Regions from separate parts of the Homo sapiens genome. Here regions 2, 3 and 4 are each linked to region 1. The links are contacts of gene promoters, found by promoter capture Hi-C in blood cells and fetal thymus (Javierre and others, 2016). All regions are on one chromosome and are shown on one strand. The core of a region is centred on a gene start or on the middle of the fragment in contact, and the rest is flanking DNA. Distances in the headings are between cores, read along the strand shown. Region 1 holds the start of SYNE1-AS2 (SYNE1 antisense RNA 2). Region 2 overlaps SYNE1 (spectrin repeat containing nuclear envelope protein 1). Region 3 overlaps SYNE1 (spectrin repeat containing nuclear envelope protein 1). Region 4 overlaps SYNE1 (spectrin repeat containing nuclear envelope protein 1).

Region 1 (3,575 bases), core at 413-2,912:
ATTCCTTCAGCCAGTATTAATAGCATATTTCCAACTCGAATATTATAATAAGGGTAGTTCTTTTTTTGCCTACTGAATTTCGGAAGCATTTCAGCCAAGTTGCCTCATGGACCATTTCATGTCTAGACAGGAACAGAACCCCCTCTTTTTTTGGTGTTTTTGATGTTGGTTGTTTGTTTGTTTATTGAGACAGGGTCTCACTCTGTCACCCAGGGTGGAGTGCAGTGGTGCAATCTCGGCTTACTGCAACCTCTGCCTCCCAAGCTCAAGCAATTCTCCCACCTCAGCCTCCCTGGTAGCTGAGACTACAGGCACGTGCCACCATGGCAGGCTAATTTTTTAAATTTTTTGTAGACAGGAGGTTTTGCCATGTTGCCAAGGCTGGTCTTGTACTCCTGAGCTCATGCAATCTGCCTGCCTCAGCCTCCCAAAGTGCTGGGATTACAGGTGTGAGCCACTGCGCCCAGCCTAGAAACCCTTCTTATGAATGTTGATGTTCTTATTGATATTTTCCTAATGCTGTTACTGAATAACTGGGTTTAGAGGGATCACCACTATAAACCTCCCTTCACGGCCCTTCAGATGGCACAAATCCACGGGAACCATGAAGCAGGCCAGGGTAGATCAGCACTGGTCAGAACACCTGGGCTACTTCAGTGCCCAAGCCCTGGAAGCATCCAGCATGGTGGGTCTCTTTTGGCTGGCAGCCCCACTGGCTCCAGGCTCAGGTTTCTGCTGCATCCCTTTAGCTTCCATATGTGTTGCTGCTTCTGTTGATTTTCTCTACATTTCCTTTCTTCTTCTTGTGCTTTCTCTTTGATTTGCTACTTTGGGCTAAGCAATCAATCTAGTTGATCAGTTATGCTTTTGCTCTGACCTGAGACTGCTTGTTCAGCAGTACCATTAGGGATGATATACATGCACAGGAATGCTAGAAGTTTCGTGTGAAGTAAGAAGACACAAAGGAGGTGCTATCCATATGCAAAAAAGATAAAGAGTCCTTATGCATGCCGCCTGTGTTGGGGATATCAATGGTTAACAGTTGGACTTTTACAGAGTTGAGCAGGATCTTCAGAGAGTTATTGGTGTACTCTAGTCTTCTCTTTCTTCCTTTCTCTCTCTCTCTCTCTCTGTTTCTCTCTCTCTCTGTCTTTCTCTCTCTCACACACACACACACGTGTGCACATACATGCACCCCTATGTATACTCAAGGAAGAGGTGAGGGGGTGGCTTACCTTACCTCAAGGCAGAAGGGTTCCGGCAGTGCCACCTGAAGAACAGGATATTTGTCCCCTGCATTTGGCAGGCATGGGAGTCTGATCTCTATCCCCCAAAGAATCCTAAAAGTGACAGACAGGCTGGCTAACTGCTGCTATATTTGCCAAAGGATAAATGATGGCTTGTGGGGTCCTGCACCTCAAAGTTAGTTGGAGGTAAATGCCAGAGGTCACTCTGGCCCAAATATGAACCAGGAGAGGAAAAGAAAGGAAGAGACCACCATATGAGGATATTATAGGTGGCCTAAGAAGGCTATCTGGAGGATAAACAGACCTTAGCAATGAGAAGTTAAAGAAAGGCCTCCAGGCTGAGGAATGAGAAAGTAAAGAGCCAAAGAACAGCGCACTGTCGTGTCTAGGGAACTTCACTGGGAAGTCCAAGCATGAAAAAAGTCAGAAAAACACAAGACCAAGGCCTATGGGAGGAGGAATGAATGCTAAACCTTGCCTGGCCTAGAGGGCACAGATGCCCATCCAGTGAGTCAGAATGCCTCACCCGCCTCCTGCCAGTCTGAGCCTATGGGAGAAAGAAGCCTTACACAGGGTGGCAGAATAGAAATAAAATGAAGGAAGAGAAAGAAAGATATTTACTCCCTTCCACACTGTTGGTCTCCTGCTCCCAGCAGATCTGAGGTGGGGGTAAGAATAGAAGCCTTCAATTTAAGTTAAGTTCAAAGTTTTCATTACCAAATAGGCCAGGATGTTTGAATTGTGGAATTGAGATTGTTTTTCAATGTATAGTGACTATATGTCCTTTGACTAACTAGGGGGCCATAGAAGTCGACCCTCCTCAGCTATATCATCCAGGGAAAAGAGAATAACTAGCCCCACTCAATATTTTAAAGCAACAGTGGGGACAAAAATAAAATTGTTTTATGATAAAATCCTACAGTGATGTTTGCCCCAGATAGTGTTACATCTGAGCAGACAATGGGTATTTCCAGGGAGAATCAAGAGCAGATTTTTGGTCACCACCTGGGAATTCTGGGTAGGTCTAGCTCTACTTTCAGAATGCCCTCTCACATCTTCCCTGGAACCTCAGTTAGAGCTTCCACTCTCCCACCCAGTGTTAACACAATCCTTCCTCTTTCTATTTGCCCATCACTTCATGTGTTTGGCAACTGTGTCCACTGATTTTCCTTCTTGGAAAGGCATATTAACATTGGAGCTGGCTTCCATGATGAGACTTGTGTGGCTTTGACAATTAAGCTGCACGTGAACAGAATTTCTACTGAATGAGTATTCTTCTGGTCTTCAGAGATATTGATGAAATCTTGCTTGATATTTAGTTTATAGAAGCAGACTTAATGCAGAAACTGGAGCATGCCAAAGAAATAACTGAAGTAGCAAAAGGAACCCTGAAGGATTTCACGGCTCAAAGTACACAAGTGGAGAAGTTTATTAATGACATAACAACATGGTTCACAAAAGTGGAAGAATCGTTGATGAACTGTGCCCAAAATGAGACTTGTGAAGCATTGAAAAAAGTCAAGGTAGGTAATAAACTATCATTAAGTGCTTCCATTCAAATGGTGATTGTAGTTCTGTTTTGTGGTGACTATAATAAAAAATATAACCTCTGCTCTCAGTTACCCATATGAACACCAGACCAACTTATTTATGACATTGAACACAGCAAAGTAAGCAACACGTGAAGAACTGGGTGCAGGTGTTCAGAAATCAAAAATGAATACCTTGAAAATAGAAAGCATGTGTTGCTGTAGTGCCTGCTCAGAGTCTATGCTTGTTCAAAGTTTTTTTTTCTTTTTTATAAAAGGGTGGAGCCTCTGGAAGAACTATGTGACTTCCACAAATTTTCAAACTTGAGTATCCAATAGTTTTTCATCACTTAATTATATTTATTGGTCACTGTGACTTCTTTCATCCAGATAATGTATATTTTTTGAAAAAGAAGAAGTTGAGAAAACATTCTATTTCCATGTTTTCTATTTTTTTATTTTTATTTTTTGAGATGGAATCTCACTCTGTCACCCAGGCTGGAGTGCAGTGGCACAATCTGGGCTCACTGCAACCTCCCCTCCCAGGTTGAAGTGATTCTTCTACCACAGTCTCCCCAATAGTTGGAACTACAGGCACCCACCACCATGCCCAGCTAAGTTTTGTATTTTTAGTAGAGATGGGTTTCATCATGTTGGCCAGGCTGGTCTCGAACTCCTGACCTCAAATGATCCACTGGCCTCAGCCTCCCAAAGTGTTGGGATTACAGGTGTGAGCCACCACACCTGGCCCATTTTCATGTTTCCTATCCATATTAATAGATAACATTCCTAATTAGCT
Region 2 (3,575 bases), core at 363-2,862, 200 kb after region 1:
CGTTGCAAGGTAAATTACTGAACTGAGATTTTCACCGTCACCTGTGTGCCTCTGCTGGAATGTCTTTGGGGCCATAATCCAGTCAAACTCTTAGGTTATCTACATGCAGATACAAGATCCTAGTATATGACATAAGGACAGGCAACTCAGGTGAAACTTGTATGGCTGATTTATTGCAGTTGATGAAATTATAGACTAGTTTATGGATTACTCCAAGGAAGCAAATGAAAATTTAAAACACATTAAAAGATATTTAAAAGCTGAGTCAAGAGCAATAAAGTCATTTTTTTTGAAGCATCCACACTGGGGAGTCATTCTACCAGAAGAATCGAGTCTACAAGAAGGAAAAAAAAAAAAAAGGATCAACAGCCTGGAAAATCTGCAGACAGTGGCCCTCCAAAGAACACACCCTGCCCTCTAGACCATTATGCAAGGAAAGGGGGAAAAATAGCTTATCTCAGTGACTGCATAGAGACACACAATCCCTAAATTGCTCAGGGCTCTAAGTACTTAAAGATTATGATCAACACTTCAAATGGTACTTGGAAGCAAGTCAGTAGCTAATACAGATCACTCCCTGGATTATGAGCTCACCGAGACCAACACAATTCAGTGGCTATAAGATTCATGCCTTTCACATCTTTGTAGCCAAGTGAAATGTCCAAACAGCAGTTCTTTGCTGAGCAATAGGCTGATCATATCAAACGTACCTTTAAAAATGTTTTTCTTTCAAATTAAACATGCCCTTGTGTTCCCCAGTCATTTGCAAATTATTGCTCTAGGGTAATTCTGTTAAAAATTCGCATATACTTAAATGACTTGGGTTTTAATTAGAAATTCTCTGCCTCACTTTGGCAAAGAAATCCTAAGCATTTAAGAGATGATAATTGTTAAAGAGGTCTAGAAATCATGAAAAGTGTGGCTATAAGAATTTTTTCTTCAGTTGTAAAATCTAAGGATATTATTTGAAACTTGAAAAAGGCAGATTTAGGAAAGTTAAAAGGTAGTATATTTTACATCATGGATGGAAAGTGAAAGAAGTACTATCTTGAGCTGTTACATTCAGAAGTATGCAATGGTTACAAAGATTAAAAAGCGCATTTTGAACCTGTGATGATAAATTTATTAAAAATAAAGAAGCCGGGTGTGGTGGATCATGCCTGTAATCCCAGCACTTTGGAGGCCAAGGCAAACAGATCATTTGAGACCAGATGTTCAAGATCAGCCTGGGCAATATGGCAAGACTCCATATCTAAAGAAATTTAAAAATTAACCAGAGTGGTGGTGCTTGCCTGTAGTCCTAGCTACTGGGGAGGCTGAGGCAGGAGGATCACTTAGGAATCTGAGGCTGCAGTGAGCTATGATCACACCACTGCATCCAGCCTGGCTGACAGAGTGAGACCCTGTCTGTAAAAAAATAAATACATTAAAAATTATTAAAGAAAACTTCTGCAAAGCAGGAATGGGCATTTATTAGGGGCTGTGACTATATTGGTGTTATCTCAGTTGGCATTAACAAAAGCTCGTGAAAACATTTATTATTGCCCCTTTTCAGAAGGGAAAACTGAGGCCTCTGGAAATTTAATAACTTTTCAAAGTCAGTAAATATCTGGGTTGCCTGTATCTACAGGCTATATTTTTGCCACACTGACTCGTTTAAGGGGTTGGTATACTGTGCGTCTGAAACAGTTGGTTTTTGGTGGTGGTGTTATTATGTACTTTTGTTAAATCCATATACAAATCTGATGCTCGAGTTGGGGGGGTAGAAATCGGTGTGAAAAGTGGAAAATCTTTCCAGTGGTATAACAATTGAATATGTTTAGAAGTATTAGAAGAAATGTTGCATATTTAATTAACCTAGATGGTTTGGTCTTTCAGCCAAATACTGTTGCCATGGGGCGTCATTTTTTATCTCCCAAAAAACATGACAGTTACAAACACACGCTGCTATTGAGTGTGTAGATTTAAAAAATGTATTTTCGTCTAGTCCTGCTACTCTTCCCCAAACTGCCCTTAGCAGCAAAACAAGGCAATTACCTGGAAAATTCAGGCTAAAATCTTGTTTGCCTAAATTGCTTGGGAAGTTAGCCTCAGACAGCACCGCTAATTGCCATTGCCTTTGGAAACCTTTCTACCGTGTAAAGACACATAAAGGGAGGGGAAACGGCACATGAAATACTCTATTTATACACAAAACTAGCTGGAATCTAAAAACAACAGCTGGTTATACAAATTGCAAAACTGGTAATTGGTCAAAATATTGTAAAAACTAATGTCAACTCATTCAAATATTGCTATATGAATTTTTTTTTCTTAAATCATTCCCCTAAAAGACAGGGTACATAATCTTTTTTAGTAACTTAAAGAAATGTCTGATCCTGCAGAAAATGTATTCAGTGCATTGTTTTAAATTGAGTAGTAACAGCAACAGATCTTCTCAGCTATTACATTATAAGTATAGATCACAGAATGTAGCAACTCTATAGTGCTTGAAAATGAAAGTTAAATTTAGGTGTCTGTTTTTAAAAATATTTCATCAGTGTGATCAGCAATTCAGGACAAAAAGAAAGGATAAGTTAGAGGTTTATGAAGTCAGTCTAAAGTAAAGAAGATCAATACAGTGATTAAACTTCAATTTAGGAAAAAAAAATTTTAAATCAATAAAATGATGAGTAGATGGCAGAAAGATTCTGCAGGCAATCATACTTTATCAGAAGGACTTAGCAATTTATCAAATTATGTGGAAGCAAATGAAATATGGGCAAACCTCATTTTATTGCACTTGTTTTAGTGTGTTTCACAGATCCTATGTTTTGTTTTTTGTTTTTTGGTTTTTTTTTTTTTTTTTACAAATTGAAGATTGTGGCATTGCTGCATAGAACAAGTCTACCAGCACCATTTTTCCAACAGCATGTGCTCACTTTATATGTCTGCATAATTTTGGTAATTCTCACAATATTCCAAACTTTTTCTTTACTGTTATATTTGTTACAGTGATCTACAGTCAGTGTGACCTTTGATGGTGCTATTGTAATTAGTGGCACCACACACTGTGCCCATAGAAGTCAGCAATCTTAATTCATAAATGTAGCATGTGTTCTGATTGCTCCACCAACAATGTTCCCAATCTCTCTCCTTCTCCTCTGGCCTCCTTATTTGCTGAGACACAACAATATTGAAATTAGGCCAATTCATACAGTGGCCTCTGAGTGTTCAATTGAAAAAAATCTCATGTCTCTCACTTTAAATCAAAAGCTAGAAATGATTAAGCTTAGTGAGGAAGACATGTCAAAAGCTGGAACAGGCCAAAAGCTAGGCCTCTTGTGCCACAAACAGCCAGGTTGTGAATGCAAAGGAAAAGTTCTGAAAGGAAATTAAAAGTAATACTCCAGTGAATGCATGGATGAGAAGAAAGCAAAACATCCTTATTGCTGATACAGAGAAACTTTGAGTGGTCTGAATAAAAGATCCAACCAGCCACAACATTCCTTTAAGCCAAAGCCTAATCTGGAGCAAGGTCGTAACTCCCTTTAATTCTGTGAAGGCTGAGGGAGGAGAAGTAACTGCAGAAGAAA
Region 3 (3,575 bases), core at 591-3,090, 180 kb after region 1:
CTATTTATATCACAGCCTTATTATAAATAATGATATAATTAAAACAATGACAGTTTGAATTTGAGCTATATAGATTCTATTCCTTTAAACTTCTCTTTCACAACATGAATTTAAGGATAAATAAATGTAGTGAAGAGATTTAGAAAGAATTAGAAGTACTGTACACCCAAAGATTGCCATCATCCTCATTACCTACCCTGAAACTAGGAATATGAAACATTAATTTTTATTATGTTAACTAGAAATGATTATGTCTATATTCACATGAACCAGGATCATGAAAAATAAAATAGCACATATCCACATTTGGTGAGAGGTGGTAATCTGCTCATGAGTGTTGGTTATTATTTCCAGATGGAATAACTTGCTGGAAGAGATTGCTGAGCAGCTACAGTCCAGCAAGGCCCTACTTCAGCTTTGGCAAAGATACAAGGACTACTCCAAACAGTGTGCTTCGACAGTTCAGCAGCAGGAGGATCGAACCAATGAGCTGTTGAAGGCAGCCACAAACAAGGACATTGCCGATGATGAGGTTGCCACATGGATTCAAGATTGCAACGTATGTTCAGGAGCTACCTTGTTTTCCCCACATGCCCTTCTTAGACTGCCCAAGTTTAGCTTTTGGTCTGTGTAAGCTTTGGTATGTCTTTCTATGTGAGACAGTTACCCAAAAATAACTGTCTTAGGATCAAAGAGCCTGCCTGATTTTCAGAACACAGGTGCACATGCATCAGACTAAGAGGTCTCCTCCCATTGTTTTATTTTTTAAAATGAGTTGTTTTCCCATTTTTCCTAGTGGAATTTAGTCAATGTGAAAGATTGAGGCTCTTTGTGTTTTCTAGGGTGGTCAATATAAGACATGACCATATGGGGAATAGTGTTCTATCTTTAAAAAATCTTCTGTTCCAGATGTTGTCCATTTACATTCATTAACTCCTATGTAAGCATCTACACAATAGTTTCATCTAAGATATTAATGGTAGAAAGAAGTCTTTCTCTCCTAATTTACTGGTATACTTCTTTTAATGGCTTTTTAATAATTCTCTTTTTCACTGTAGCTGCCAATAACCTACTTAAGGGTTTAAGGAACAGCTCTTCTCTTGTTTCAAGCATTACATGGCTCTTACTATTTGTCCTTATTTGTCTTTATTTTTAAGAGCTTGTTACGAGGATCTTTTTATAAACTTTTCCAAATCAGTTTATTAGAATTAGGCAAGCTATAAAAACTATGTAAATAAAAGTTTAACCTATTCTAATATCTTCAACCTGAATAATCACTTTAAAGCTAAAGATGGGTATTTTAAAATAAAGATAATACAGTGCTTTTTTCATCCACATAATTTGTGTGTACAAGAACTGTCATTTTCAATACTCCTGAATTGAAATACACCTTGTCTGTTATCTGTGTCAAGCGTAAAGAGCCCTTTGTTCTTCTTTCTCTCACAGAAGTCACTGCCTAGGCATAACATGACTGAGTGGGATACCAGCAACAGGTAGAAGAAGCAGTCACTTATTATCTCTCAATGATAGGATAGAAAGCAGAAACAGGGAGTTTCCATTGGCTTATATTTTTTAACCTGTAGGAGGGTCCCACAGAAAGTGGAGGCAAAGAGATCCCATGGAAAAGAATGGGAATACAGGCTACTCTCACCCCCTGCTCACCAAAATCATCACTGTGTTCTGTACCCTACTGAGATAGGAGGTTGCTGTACTTGCAATAATGTGACCACACATATAGAAGACACCACGGACAAATTCCTGGTGTGTATGATAATAATAGAAAAAGGAAAAATATAACATTTTGTTTTCAATTTGATACAAATTACATAAAGAGGCAGGAAAAAAACTGCCAAAATATTTCCAGTTATTGGCTCTACTCTTGGGTCATGTTTGTTTTTTTTTTTTTTCTTGTTTATGTATGTTTTTCTGCATTTCCCCAAGGTCCTGTAATGAACCTACATAGCTTTTACTAACAAAAGAGTAATTATATATAGCCATAGGTTATATGTGTATAATGTATGTTTAAAATATTAACATAGCATTTTAAAAAATGGGGTTCAGTGCGTGTTCATTTTTCCACAGGTGAAGTTTATTTAGCCTAATAATATGATCCGTAGGAATGGTGTGTTTCTACATGTGTAGCCCTTTGCCGATTGCTGTTTATGATAAGGAGTATCAACATGCTTCAGAGTGGGCATATTTTCACCTCTTCTAGGACCTCCTCAAAGGACTGGGCACAGTTAAAGATTCCCTCTTTTTTCTCCATGAGCTGGGAGAGCAACTGAAGCAACAAGTGGATGCTTCCGCAGCATCAGCTATTCAATCGGATCAACTCTCTTTGAGTCAACACTTGTGTGCCCTGGAGCAAGCTCTCTGCAAACAGCAGACTTCATTACAGGTACAGAGCTCCTATTTAGTATCTTCTGTATATTGGCTGTTCTCTAATATCTGGGCACAAACACAGAAAAAGAATTCCTTGTCATGGCAACAATGCCTCCTTCAAGACTCAAGAAAATAGCAAGTAAACAAACTTGGAAGTTCTGGTGGGGACGATGAAGGTGGACGTTTTGCGCTGTTCTCTGCCAAGGAATTTTAAAATCGGTTTAAGATGCAAGCCCCTGAACCAATGCCTGCCACCATGGCCTGTTCAATTAATAAACACTAAGCGGCTTTAATATAAATATTCGTGTTTATTTAACTCAGACTTTTACAAGAATCAGAAGATTTTTCAGACGTGTTGTTTGATCATGTATTTAAAGAATAATTTGAATTGTTATTGACTTATGGTGCATAGAAATAATTATAGTTTTTAGAAAAATTACATAAAGAAGATTTAAATTGTTATAGCTTTTTTTATAGGAACGTCTAGAGAATGGCAATTTGATACAAGAATATGAAAAATAATTTTAATATCCACTTGCCCTTTTACCAGACTTTATTAAAATACCAATTTTTTTTTTTTTAACTGAAATACCAATTTCTTTTGTGGAAAAAAAGGCTGGAGTTCTTGATTATGAAACCTTTGCCAAGAGTTTAGAAGCTTTGGAGGCCTGGATAGTGGAAGCTGAAGAAATACTACAAGGGCAGGACCCTAGCCACTCATCTGACCTCTCCACAATCCAGGAAAGGATGGAAGAACTTAAGGTAAGTGTGTTCAAATCTGAGTCCCAGATCTTTTACCATCTGTCTTCAAAAATCTTTTTTTTTTTGAGATGGAGTCTCACTCTGTCGCCCAAGCTGGAGTGCCGTGGTGTGATCTCGGCTCACTGCAACCTCTGCTTTCCGGGTTCAAGCGATTCTGCCTCATCCTCCCGAGTAGCTAGGATTATAGGGGCACGCCACCACTCCTGGCTAGTTTTTGTATTTTTAGTAGAGACGAGGTTTCACTGGTCTTGAACTGATCACCCGAGGTCAGGCCTCCCAAAATGCTGGAATTACAGGAATGAGCAACCACACCCAGCCCTGTTTTCAAAATCTTAAGTGAAACTCAAAGCTGATGTAGACCCACTCTTTCTTTCGAGTGAGCCCCCAGTGAGACTTTCTCTGGCAAACAGTAGACTGTGTGCTGGCAGTGG
Region 4 (3,575 bases), core at 780-3,279, 160 kb after region 1:
AGAAAAACTCAGAGCCTGTCTTCAAAGGAGCCCACCTTCGTTCTTACCTCTACCTTTCCCTGTGTTTCCTTTTTGCCCCTTTGTACACCTGGTCCTAGTTGCTCCCTCTGCCCTCCCTTGTCCTGGTCAAGGACTCCTCGCGCACTCCTCACTCTCCTCTAGAAATGCAGAGCTGTCTACTCAGCTCCAGCGCTGGGTTGGTGTGAACTCCTCTCCACCCAGGCTGGAGTGCAGTGGCACGATCTTGGCTCACTGCAACCTCGGCCTCCCAGGTTCAAGCGATTCTTGTGCCTCAGCCTCCTGAGTAGCTAGGATTACAGGCACACACCAGCATGCCCGGCTGATTTTTGTATTTTTAGTAGAAACGGATTCCACCACATTGGCCAGGCTGGTCTTGAGCTCTTGACCTCAGGTAATCCACCCACTTCAGCCTCCCCAACTGTTGGGATTACAGGCGTGAGCCACCGCACCCGGCCCTAAACCAATTTTGATTCTAACATAATATATGAATGAGTTGCTGACTTCTTTCTTCCTGAAAAATTGCAGGAATACTTTCAGGGCCTGGAATCTCATATGATCTTGACTGAAACACTCTTCAGAAAGATAATCAGCTTTGCAGTCCAAAAGGAAACCCAGTTCCATACAGAGCTGATGGCTCAGGCTTCTGCTGTACTGAAACGGGCTCACAAGAGGGGTGTGGAGCTGGAGTACATTCTAGAGGTGAGACCATTGATGTCATATCTTCTGTGCTGCAAACTTCCTGCTGCAAAATAGACCTTTAATGCAAGATGTATCTATCCATGCAGTTTGCCTCACATAACCTCAGAACTAGCTGCGCTCTCGGGCTCAGGACTGCACTTTTCCTATGGTTCTGTGTTGCTTATTCCCCCTGTGTTTTCTGTGTACATTGGGCTATCTGCTGTGCCATGTCGAAAGTAAGATAGATACACACTGACTTCAGACTATGCATGAAGATATTTGGGGTTTTGATATTCAGACTGATAGCTTACTTAAGAGTATGAAAAATGTAGAAATAGGCCAGGTGCAGTGGCTCACACCTGTCATCCCAGCACTTTGGGAGGCTGAGGCGGGTGGATCACTTGAGGTCAGGAGTTCGAGACCAGCCTGGCCAACATGATGAAACAAACCAACATGTTGAAACCCCGTCTCTACTAAAAATACAAAAAATTAGCCGGACGTCGTCGTGGGTGCCTGTAATCTCAGCTACTTGGGAGGCTGAGGCAGGAGAATCACTTGAACCGGGAGGCAGTGGTTGCAGTGAGCCAAGGTCACACCATTGCACTCCAGCCTGGGCAACGGGAGTAAAACTCTGTCTCAAAAAAAAAAAAAAATGAAAGTAAAATGTAGAAATATTTTTTTCTGTCCCAAATGCGGTTGCTCTTGGAACAGAGTAGTGCTCAGTGGTGGCTACTGGCAAGCTATAGAACCCCGTGGAAATGTAGGACATTATTGATGGAACAGTCCCCTTTCTTTCTTCAGTAACTGTACCAGTTGCCCTAAACTGTTCCTGCTTTCTCATTCTTCCTCTTTCCCTTGGAAGTTTTAGAGATTATAATCTCTCTCCCCTTTGTGGACTTCCCCACCCACTCCCACAATATTACTGATCTTAACTGGGTTGCCTGCAGGTCGTATTTGCATTTTTTCTAAATGGGATTTTCCCTGGGCCAACATTTTCATAGGTAGCTAACCCCCAAATCCCAGATGTGGAATTCCCTGATGTGGAATTCCCTATATTTTGGAGAGACATCTACCTTTAACGTTTGAAATCTCTGTAATAATAGTTACACTTTATTGACATGTCAGGTCCCTGGCAAGACTTCTTACATTTACATGAATCCATCTCATCTTTATCATAACCCTTTGAGATAGAATTTTGAATCCCTGTTTCAGCAATGAGTCTGGGAGCAACTGTTTGCCAAGACACGTGGTTAATTGGTGGCAAAGTCAGAGATCACACCTTCATCTGTCTGACTTCACGACCTGAAATGTGTGTTTCTCCATGAAACTTACCTGATGACACCATTTAAATTGTAGCCCCACCAGGCACACACCTGGGCACTCCCTCCCACCCCTACCCAGTTCTGTTTTATTCTTCCACAGCACAAGAACTCTATTATACCATACAACTTATTGTTTGTTTTTGGTTTATTGTTTATTATTGATTGCCTGTCTCTCCTCACTAGAAGGCCTGGGTTTGTGTCTGTTTTATTTACTCCCAGATCCCTAGGCATTGAAAATACCAGGCAATAGATATTTGGTAAGTGTATTTAAAAAGCATGGGTTTCTACTACTGTGCCCTGTTGCCACTCCAACTGCACAGTGAAGTGAGCATACTCACACTGAGAAACTGCTGACCCACAGCGTAAATTACTGGAAAAGACTTCAACTGATCTTTTAAAAAGTGTTTTCCAGTTTTAAATAAAATAAAAGTCTGAACTTAGGAATAAGTGATGTGGTATTTTTCTTTAACAGAATATATAAACTATATATTCATATTTATAGATATGTTTCATATGCAAATGTAATTGATTTGTTTACTCGTTACATGAAAGGCAAACATCCCCATCCTTTTGACTTAAATCCTTACTGTGGTAAAGAATAAAACCATACATACCTGGGCTAGATGTGGTGGCTCATGCCTGTAATCCCAGCACTTTGGGAGGCTGAAGCAGGAGGATCTTTTGATACCAGGAGTTTGAGACCAGGCTGGACAACATAGTGAGACCCCCATCTCTACAAAAAAATTTTTTTTAAGTTAGCCTGGTGTGGTGGAATGCGCCTGTGGTCCCAGCTACTTGGGAGGATGAAGCAGGAGGATCCCTTGAGCCCAGGAGTTCGAGTCTACAGTGATCCATGATTGTGCCACTGTACTCCAGCCTGGGCAACAGAGTGAGAGCCTATCTAAAAAAAAAAAAAAAAAAAAAAGTGCATACCCAATAGAAGGTACACTGCATACATTATTCCATTTAATCCTCATGATGGAGAAGATAGCTATTATTATCCCCATTGTAACGTATGGAAAAGAGGTACAGAGTTTAGTAGCTTACTCACAGTTGTAAAGGGGCTTAGTGGCAGATTCCAGAGCCCATTCACAATGCTTTCAAGGGTCACCATTTGATTACTTGCTTTAAAGCCATCTTTTGCTTCCCAAAGCAAGGCCCAACGCAAACATCTCTGATATAACTTTAAGGAGAGACTGTCAGGCACGTATTTTGCACCCAAGGAAGAATGTCTTTCGCTAATGAGGGTTTTTTTAGCTCACAGACTCATGTTGTGTTTCTAGACGTGGTCCCATCTGGATGAGGACCAGCAGGAGCTCAGCAGACAGCTGGAGGTGGTGGAAAGCAGCATCCCAAGCGTGGGTCTGGTGGAGGAGAACGAGGACAGGCTTATTGACCGCATAACACTCTACCAGGTTGGTGTTACAAGCCGCCACATTGCCTTTAGAAACTTACCAATAGTTTTAACAGAATGTAAACAAACTTGTGATCAATTATTTTATTAGTACTTTTACTTTTCTTTCAAGTTATTGACATTGAAAGGAGATAATGTTT

The links. The method cuts DNA at HindIII sites, captures the fragments that hold promoters and counts their contacts. A CHiCAGO score of 5 or more calls a contact.
Region 2: a contact is called between a fragment that was not itself captured here and the fragment with the promoter of SYNE1-AS2 in region 1, in 1 of 17 cell types (neutrophils). The highest score is 6.4, in neutrophils.
Region 3: a contact is called between a fragment that was not itself captured here and the fragment with the promoter of SYNE1-AS2 in region 1, in 1 of 17 cell types (neutrophils). The highest score is 12.1, in neutrophils.
Region 4: a fragment that was not itself captured here is called in contact with the fragment with the promoter of SYNE1-AS2 in region 1 in 1 of 17 cell types (neutrophils); the score reaches 14.1 in neutrophils.

What each region holds. Positions count from the first base shown.
Region 1 is chr6:152,400,333-152,403,907 of GRCh38, reverse strand. SYNE1-AS2 (SYNE1 antisense RNA 2) reads right to left here and starts at 1,662. Exons shown (of 2, transcript XR_007059819.1): 1 at 1,241-1,662. SYNE1 (spectrin repeat containing nuclear envelope protein 1) reads left to right here. Exons shown (of 146, transcript NM_182961.4): 47 at 2,567-2,770. The HindIII fragment of the contact is 21,096 bases long and covers 1-3,575 here.
Region 2 is chr6:152,198,258-152,201,832 of GRCh38, reverse strand. SYNE1 (spectrin repeat containing nuclear envelope protein 1) reads left to right here. Exons shown (of 146, transcript NM_182961.4): 127 at 1-9. Among named protein-coding and RNA genes, the nearest start is that of SYNE1-AS1, 180 kb to the left of the region's middle. The HindIII fragment of the contact is 3,321 bases long and covers 1-3,272 here.
Region 3 is chr6:152,217,826-152,221,400 of GRCh38, reverse strand. It overlaps SYNE1 (spectrin repeat containing nuclear envelope protein 1), which reads left to right. Exons shown (of 146, transcript NM_182961.4): 119 at 355-559; 120 at 2,216-2,398; 121 at 2,998-3,144. Among named protein-coding and RNA genes, the nearest start is that of SYNE1-AS1, 160 kb to the left of the region's middle. RefSeq lists an enhancer at 1-264. The HindIII fragment of the contact is 2,405 bases long and covers 638-3,042 here.
Region 4 is chr6:152,236,678-152,240,252 of GRCh38, reverse strand. SYNE1 (spectrin repeat containing nuclear envelope protein 1) reads left to right here. Exons shown (of 146, transcript NM_182961.4): 108 at 547-720; 109 at 3,305-3,436. Among named protein-coding and RNA genes, the nearest start is that of SYNE1-AS1, 140 kb to the left of the region's middle. The HindIII fragment of the contact is 6,097 bases long and covers 1-3,575 here.